2 separate regions of the Homo sapiens genome follow, and region 1 is linked to region 2. The links are contacts of gene promoters, found by promoter capture Hi-C in human tissues and cell types (Jung and others, 2019). All regions are on one chromosome and are shown on one strand. The core of a region is centred on a gene start or on the middle of the fragment in contact, and the rest is flanking DNA. Distances in the headings are between cores, read along the strand shown.

Region 1 (3,958 bases), core at 240-2,739, 200 kb before region 2:
TCCCTTGACCACTTGTCTTGTGATAAGGCCCAGTCCATGCAATTAAATAAACTCATTTAACAAATATGACTCCCAGAAAGCCCTACAAATTATCAGTTGCAGATTTTTAGGGCCTCCCCAGACACTTGACTTGTAAGTAGAAGATATATCAAGTTTTGATGGAAAAGTTTGCCTTCACAATGTACAAAGAACCATGTTAGTGGATCTTCTGGAAAGACATCTCACCTGAAAATCAATAGTCATCTCTTGAGACAGCAGTGTCTAAAATCGTGATTTTCCATTTTTTCCAAATGGTATTCCTTGTATTTGGCATTTGCAATTTTTTACCTTTCCTCATCTTTCTTAGCACTTGAATACCCATGATAGAGTTAATCATTTAACCCAAGGCACTGAGAAATTATGACATTATATGAATGAGTAGACTTCATTAAAGTGGCATTCCCCTAGATGCTGCTGAATTCCAGGGCTTAGGGGACAATGTTTGAGGCCTCACTTATACACCTCAGCATGTGATGTAGATCTGCTCTGCCTCACTCTTCCCACTTTGGGTCCTCATTTAGGTTTAGGGGTAACAAAAGAAGCAAATCTCTCTAGCTTGACATCTTCCTCACTTTTGATGTCTGCCCTTGTAGTAACACAGGGGCCAACTGGATAATATGTATGCCATTGCTGCAAACTTCCCCTCCAACAAGGCAACAGATTTCAGCTCAGCTCTCACCAGGGGAGAGAGCACAAATTAGATCCAAATGGCAGGAACAATAGTCCAGGCTGTTTCAGGAGGACAGGGCACAAACAGGGCAGGCAGCTGGTGAAGCTCTGTTACCTCATTTAATCTCCATAACCCTGGGGTGGAAGGCTGTATTTTTATTCTCATTTTACAGATGAGGAAATTGAGACCCAGAGCAATGAGGGGATTTGTTCAAAGTCATGCAGTCACTAGTAGCAGAGTCAGGATTAGAGCCCCATGTCCTGACTACCAGTTCATTGCCTTTCCCGCTGCACCACACAGCCTTCCTCTCCCATTCACTCACTTAGCAAATGTTTGTTGGTGCTTCCAAACACTGAAGATACAAAAGTGAATAAGACTGAGTCCCTAACATTGAGTCCAGAATTCATAGAGGAGGGACCAACAAAGGAATAAATAATTAAAGACACAATAAGCGCTATAATCAAGAATTTGACAAAGTGTGTTGGGGGAGCCCCAAAAACAGTGCTGATCTCTAACCATGTGCAGGTGAGTAGAAGCTTCCTGGAAGAGGTGACATTTGGCTGCCCCAGACTTGCATGCACCTGCTTTAAATGTGTGGTCCTTTACTTCTCAGTTTTCGCAATTCACAATTAACTCTAAGCCTGAAAAAGTTTCGTCGAAAGCTGATTCCATTAGAAAGTGGCAAACTCCTACTTCTCTGCATCTGATCTTATACATTGTGCTCACACAGACCCCTGTGCTGGCCTCTGCACAGCCCTTGGCACACCATGTTCAAAGTGTTTGCTTCCAGTTCTCTCTCCTATCACTCTTTAGAGTTCCTCATGTTGGACAACAGTGGTTCCTCATGGTCCTTTAACCATCAATGCCCAGCCCAAGGCCTGGCACACAGTGGGTAGCCAGTGAATATTCTTCGAGCGAATAAGCAAAAGTGCAAGTAAACTCTCCAGGAAGGCTCTGGGGAGTCTAAGTTCAAATTATCCTAGTAATCCTTTCTGTAGGTATTCAGCTGACTTTGTTTATTTAAACGGAGGAAAAGAAAACCAAAAACTTGTACAGTTCTTTGGCTACAGGAACCAAGAGGGGCAGACAATGACCTTTCCCTCCCTCTGGCTGACCCTAGGGTCTTCACCACAGACGCTGAGTTCCGCTGCCCTTTTATTTTATCAGCTGTGAATTGTTTGCAAAATTCCAAGCAGTTTGTAGGAAATTCAGGAAAATTCAGCAGCTAGAAGAGAAACTGGTTTCATTTTCCAGCTCAGCTTTTTTCTGAAATATAACACCATATAGGGCTTTAAAGCATGCTCACTTCCTGTGGTCATTATTTCAATAGCTTTGAGCAACTTGTAGTTTATGCCTTCTTTCTGGAATGTCCAATAATTGCCCTGTAATTCCACAGGTCTCAAATCTAAAAACCATTTTATACGTTTCATTGTTAGAGGGCAATATCAGTCCAGTTCCCTTATTGGATAATTTTGGTTTAAAAAGATAAAAAGACCAGGCATGGTGGCTCACGCCCATAATCCTAACACTTTGGGAGGCTGAGGCAGGAGGATCACTTGAGCTCAGGAGTTCAAGACCAGCCTGAGTAGCATATGGAGATCCCTGTCTCTACAAAATTAAAAAAATCAGCTAGGTGTGGTGGTGTGCTCCTGTAGTCCCAGCTACTTGGGAGGCTGAGGCCAGAGGATCGCTTTAGCCCAGAAGGTCAAGGCTGCAGTGAGCCAAGATAGTGCCACTGCTCCCAGCCTGGGCACAGAGTGAGACCTTGTCTCAAAAACAAAGTCCTGCAGCCTCCCCAAACACTTCTGCAGGGGCATCATTCTTGAAATCTGGGAAAATGGTGTGACTTCTAGGGTTTAAAGATCACCACTTGGGTAAGAAAGTATAAGCATGGAATGTAAAAGGCATGAACATGATTGTTTGTGTCCTCAGCTTTGAGCATTTGATTGAAAATGATACACTTACAGTGATTTTCTTCCAGGGTAGAGGCTACCTTCCATTCTGCTCATCTTACACTTCTTGGAAAGGAGACATTCGGTGAAGATCACTACTATTCTCCAAACTTCATTCGGGACCCTATTCCTTCCCTGTTGATGTCAGTGTGTGAAATTCTAAATTATGTCATGGGTGTATACGTTCAAAAGCAATATATTTTCAAATAAACAAAAAATATAATTGGCCATCACATATACCAAATATGCAATATGATAATTGTGCCTAAAGTAGATTAATTAAATGTTAATGGTAAACAGGAAGAACAGTTCAAAATGACAAGCTCTTTCAGTTTAATTCAACTGAGTCCCTCCCGTGGGTCAGATCTTTTGCTCAGTACCCCATAAGACACTATTTCTGCCCTTTATGAACCCACCACCTACTAAGGGAGACTTATGAGAACACTTTTGCTGACCCACGTGCTTCTTTTTTTTTTTTTCTTTTTGAGACGGAGTTTCACTCTTGCTGCCCAGGCTGGAGTACAATGGCATGATCTGGGCTCACTGGAACCTCTGCCTCCCCGGTTCAAGCAATTCTCCTGCCTCAGCCTCCTGAGAAGCTGGGATTACAGGTGCCCACCACCATGCCTGGCTAATTTTTTCTATTTTTAGTAGAGATGGGGTTTCACCATGTTGACCAGGCTGGTCTTGAACTCCTGACCTCAGGGGATCCACCCACCTTGGCCTACCAAAGTGCTGGGATTACAGGCATGTGCCACTGTGCCCGGCCTTACCCATGTGCTTCTAAACGGACTAACTCTCCCTAAGACCATAAGATCAGGACAAGAGAATTCCCATCCTCCTCGTCTTTCCTCTTCAACAGCCTTACACTCTTTCTCAGCTTCTTCCTGGCATCCTCGACTGCTGAGTATTAACCTCACACTTCTCACTGATTCTGTTCTTGCAGCATTGACTTCTGACTCTGTTCCCTAAATACAACTCACACATACCACTTGGATCCTATCTTCTTTTCCAAGACAATGGAGGAATCTAGCTCAGTATCCTACCCTGACATAGGGGCATGTGGTTGGTGTTTCTGCTGAGTTTCCCAGGACCCTGCAAACAAGAACCAGACAAATCTGTCATACCTATGAACTGCTCCCCATCTGAAATTTTTTTGAGGGACAAGAGGAATGGCGTCTCGCTCTGTCACCCAAGCTGGAATGCACTGGTGTGATCATGGCCCACTGCAGCCTTGACCTCCTGGGCTCAAGCAATCCTCCTGCTTCAGCCTCCCGAGTAGCTGGGACCACAGATG
Region 2 (4,050 bases), core at 575-3,074:
CAAAGAAAAAAAAAAGGGATATAGATAGAAAAGAAAGAAGTTAAAGTGTCTTTATTTACAAAAGACATGACCATATGCATAGAAAACCTGAACAGATTTCCAAAAAGTTACCAAAAGTAATAATTGAGTTTAGGAAGGTCTCAGGATACAAGGTCAACAGAAAAAATCAATTATATTTTAATATACTAGAATTTTTCTTTTGAGACAGAGTCTCACTCTGTTGCCCAGCCTGGAGTGCAGTGGCATGATCTCAGCTCACTGCAACCTCTGCCTCCTGGTTTCAAGTTATTCTCCTGCCTCGGCCTCCCAAGTAGCTGGGATTACAGGCATGAGCCACCATGCCCAACTAATTTTTGTATTTTTAGTAGAGACTGGGTTTCACCACGTTGGCCTGGCTGGTCTCCAACTCCTGACCTCAGGTGATCCACCCACCTCGGCCTCCCAAGTGCTAGGATTACAGGAATGAGCCACAGTGCCGGCCAGCCTTTTTCTTGAAAAATGAACAAAGTGAGCCTGTCACTTCAAGGAAAATAACTGACAGTATTTGTTGCCAATAAGAAAATTCCAAAATTCCACATTCAAATGCCAAATAAGAAAAAGCTTTCGGCTGGGGGCAGCGTGAGCCACCGCGCCCGGCCAAGTTTTGTATTATTTTTCTTAACTATGTCTTCTCAAATTGCGGAAGCGTTAGGCCCCACAACATTTGACATCACCAGTAGGGATCCAGTGGAGAGGAGGGACATGATCAGAAACTGTGTTTTTAAATGATCATTCAACAGCCAATTATCAGGGTGGGTAGGAGTGAGGCAGGGAGATCAAAAGGCAGGGAGATTGGCTGGGATTACAGGCATTGTTACCAGAAAGGGGTCCCGATCCGGACCCCAAGAGAGGTTCATGGATCTCGCACAAGAAAGAATTCAGGGCGAGTCCGCAATGCAAAGTGAGAGCAAGTTTATTAAAGTACAAGAATAAAAGAATGGATAGTCCATAGATAGAGCAGCTCCAAGGGCTGCTTGCCCATTTTTATGGTTATTTCTTGATGGTACGCTAAACAAGGGGTGGGTTATTCACGCCTCCACTTTTTTTTTTTTTTTTTTTTTTTTTGAGACGGAGTCTCGCTTTGTCGCCCAGGCTGGAGTGCAGTGGCGCGATCTGGGCTCACTGCAAGCTCCGCCTCCCGGGTTCACGCCATCCCTCAGCTTCCCGAGTAGCTGGGACTGCAGGCGCCAGCAACCTCGCCCGGCTAATTTTTTGTATTTTTGGTAGAGACGGGGTTTCACCGTGTTAGCCAGGAGGGTCTCGATCTCCTGACCTCGTGATCTGCTCGCCTCGGCCTCCCAAAGTGCTGGGATTACAGGCGTGAGCCACCACGCCCGGCCAGGTCCCGAAACTTAAGCTTCATTTGTTTCACTGCAAATCTGCTTCTGCCTACAAGCCTGGTCTCATTTTCCTCTACCTAAGGATCTTCCTCCATGCAATTTCGGCCTAGGAGGCCCTTCCCGCCCCTTTTCGCCTAGCTAACTCTTTCGGTACTCAACCACCAACTCCTAATCCTCCCTGGTCCCCCAAGTGGGCTAGGGGCTTCTTGGGAGTCCCTCGCACTGCTCTAAGCATCCAGGCAGAGTCATTATTCCGGGTGCCAGGTTGCTCTTTTTCCAGCAGCCTTCAGGGGACTCCTGGCTGGGCGGAGTCTGTAGAGGCGCGCGGAGTCCTGGGAGAGCGTCAGATGTATTTCCTTTCCCTTTTTTCGCTCGTGTCCCGCCGGGTGGCGCTCACCACCTCCCCGGAACACGCGAGTCTCCTGTCGCGGTTCCGGTCGGAATTACCCCGTGGAGCACGCCGATATGGCTGCGCTGACACTGAGGGGTGTCCGGGAGCTGCTGAAGCGTGTGGACCTCGCGACGGTCCCGCGGAGACATCGATATAAGAAGAAATGGGTAAGGTCCGGCTGGGGGCGCAGGAGGGAAAAGTGAGGGTGGAAACTTCTCCAGTCTTTCCGTTTCCCGGCCCTCTAGAACGCCTAGCGTCTTTCCCAAGCACTCCACGGAACGTCCTTAGGCACCTCCCTCTCTCGTCTTTTCCGTCACCGCCTCTGTCCGCACTCTATGTCCCGAGCGTTAGTGTCTTCCACTTGTTACGTCTGCAGTCTCCTGACTCCGCCCAAGTTGCGTCATCACCTTCGCCTTCATTCTTTTAGTGATGTCACTGTCTCTTGTTCCCCAGCTGTGTCCACCTACCTTTCTGTCCCCCACTCCCCCTTTTACTTCCCTCCCTCCCCTCCCCCTTTCCCTTGCCCATTCTTCCCCCACATGACTTCTCCTTTCCTCATTGATTTTCCAGCCCGGTCGCCCTCACCCCTCGGAAAATACCATAGCGACCTTGCCTGCACTCCTGGGTCTCCGCCGCCTTGCAGGAAAGGATTCAGCCCCTTCCTCAACCTCGAGCTGCCTCTGGCGACCGGGCAAGGTTACAGCGACCACCCTGTCCATACTGCCGGCCCAAACCCTGGCAAAAGGTGCAACGAATCCTCTCATCCTCTGGACTCTCCTTGCTTCTCCAGAGACCCTTTTTCTTGCCTCACTGGAAGCCCTGGAATTTCTTCTATGACCGGCACGCCCCCCTGCCCACCCCAGCCGATTCCCTCGCCACCTCCACCATCTCTTCCACCCCCACAACCTTCCTCGCACTCAGGGAGATGGTCTTTTGAGTCCTCTTCCCCACTCCTGGAAAGGACCTACTGCCGCTAGCCCTGCCACTCGGGTTCCCCACTCTCCAGCCCTTATTTTGAGCAGTTCAGCATTCCGGGGTCACCCCCTCTCTGTCAGCGGACACCTTATTGCAGCTGGATGAGTCCCTCCAGAATGCGGCGTCCCTGTCTTCAAGGCACGTACTGTGACCAGCACACTAATCTCTGTTACTCTAGCGGATGGCCTTCAGCTTTTGGAACCAGCCCGGCAACCTCCTTTCCCCTTGCTCATCAGTCCCCGGGAACGAGCCCAGTGACCTCCCCTCAGCTCACTCATGTACCCTTGGAAACTGGACCCATGATTTCGCCTCCTCCTACACATAGGACCCCGGGAACTTGCCTCACGATTTCACCTCCTCTTGCTCGCCGGCCGGTGGAAACTAGTCCTATGGCCTCCCCAACCCTTTCTCACAGAGTTTTGGAAACTGGGCTGATGATCTCTCTGCCCTCTCACTGGTTCTCAGGGAGAAGTTATAATGACCCCCTTCTCTCCCCAGCATCTTCCCCACCTACTGGCAGCTTTTACCATGGCAGCCTTAAGCCTCTAGACTCTTGTGAACCCAAACCACAGCTTGACCTGCCCCTTGAGAAAAATTGTTGTGGCTTCCCACTCTCTTCTCAGGCAGGCATGCCTGGCTCTCCCAGCTCACCTCAGGAGGGCTCTTATCATTACTCCCATCTTTCCTCAGAGGCCTACATACCTACCCCTGGGAGTCCTTGCTATGCCATCTGCCTGTGCCCCGGGAGTACTGATTCTCCTTGCTCACCCCAGTCCCAGGCTCCCAGGAAGGCTTGCATTGAGTCCCTTCTCTCCTGGGAGGCAACTGGGAACTCTTACCTCATCCTAACCCCGGACACCACAACTTCTGGTCCCCCCTGTTCCCAGGAACCATCTCGTCCCCATGGTCCTCATTCTGTCCTTTCCTTCCCTTCACCCCTGGGCAACCAGTTTATATCTCCACCCCAGTCACTTCCCCGCAGAAGCTATAATGAACCCCCTCTTCCCACTCCAGTTTCCCCCCAACCGAAGTCCCCTAAGTCCCCAGAGTTAAGACAGTCACATACTCCCCACAAATGTCTCTCCCTAGTCAACACTCCCCAGCACACCCCTTCTGGCCAGCCCAAGCCCGCTAAGGCCCACACCTGTCCCCCACCTCCCTCCTGCCTCTCTGGTCCTTCTTGTATGCAGCCATACATCACAACTCCTTCAAATTCCAGCCCCAAAGAACTTCCCCCAGGGACTACCTTACTGACTGTGGTCCCTAGAGCTCTCAAAAGTGTTATCCCCACTTCTTTTCCCCTCT

Evidence for each region. Contacts are between HindIII fragments. The study calls those that stand out against the background at their distance.
Region 1: a contact is called between a fragment that was not itself captured here and the fragment with the promoter of NSUN4 in region 2, in 1 of the 25 tissues and cell types used here (aorta).

The regions. Positions count from the first base shown.
Region 1 is chr1:46,136,177-46,140,134 of GRCh38, forward strand. All of the region lies in intron 1 of P3R3URF-PIK3R3 (P3R3URF-PIK3R3 readthrough), which reads right to left. LOC101929626 (a long non-coding RNA gene) reads left to right here. Exons shown (of 3, transcript NR_125987.1): 3 at 2,691-2,905. It also overlaps a transcript of PIK3R3 not described here. Among named protein-coding and RNA genes, the nearest start is that of PIK3R3, 5.5 kb to the left of the region's middle. The HindIII fragment of the contact is 9,955 bases long and covers 1-3,958 here.
Region 2 is chr1:46,338,983-46,343,032 of GRCh38, forward strand. It overlaps NSUN4 (NOP2/Sun RNA methyltransferase 4), which reads left to right and starts at 1,825. Exons shown (of 6, transcript NM_199044.4): 1 at 1,825-1,937. The coding sequence starts at 1,845. RefSeq lists enhancers at 226-1,025, 1,686-1,895, 3,023-3,112. The HindIII fragment of the contact is 4,996 bases long and covers 1-3,434 here.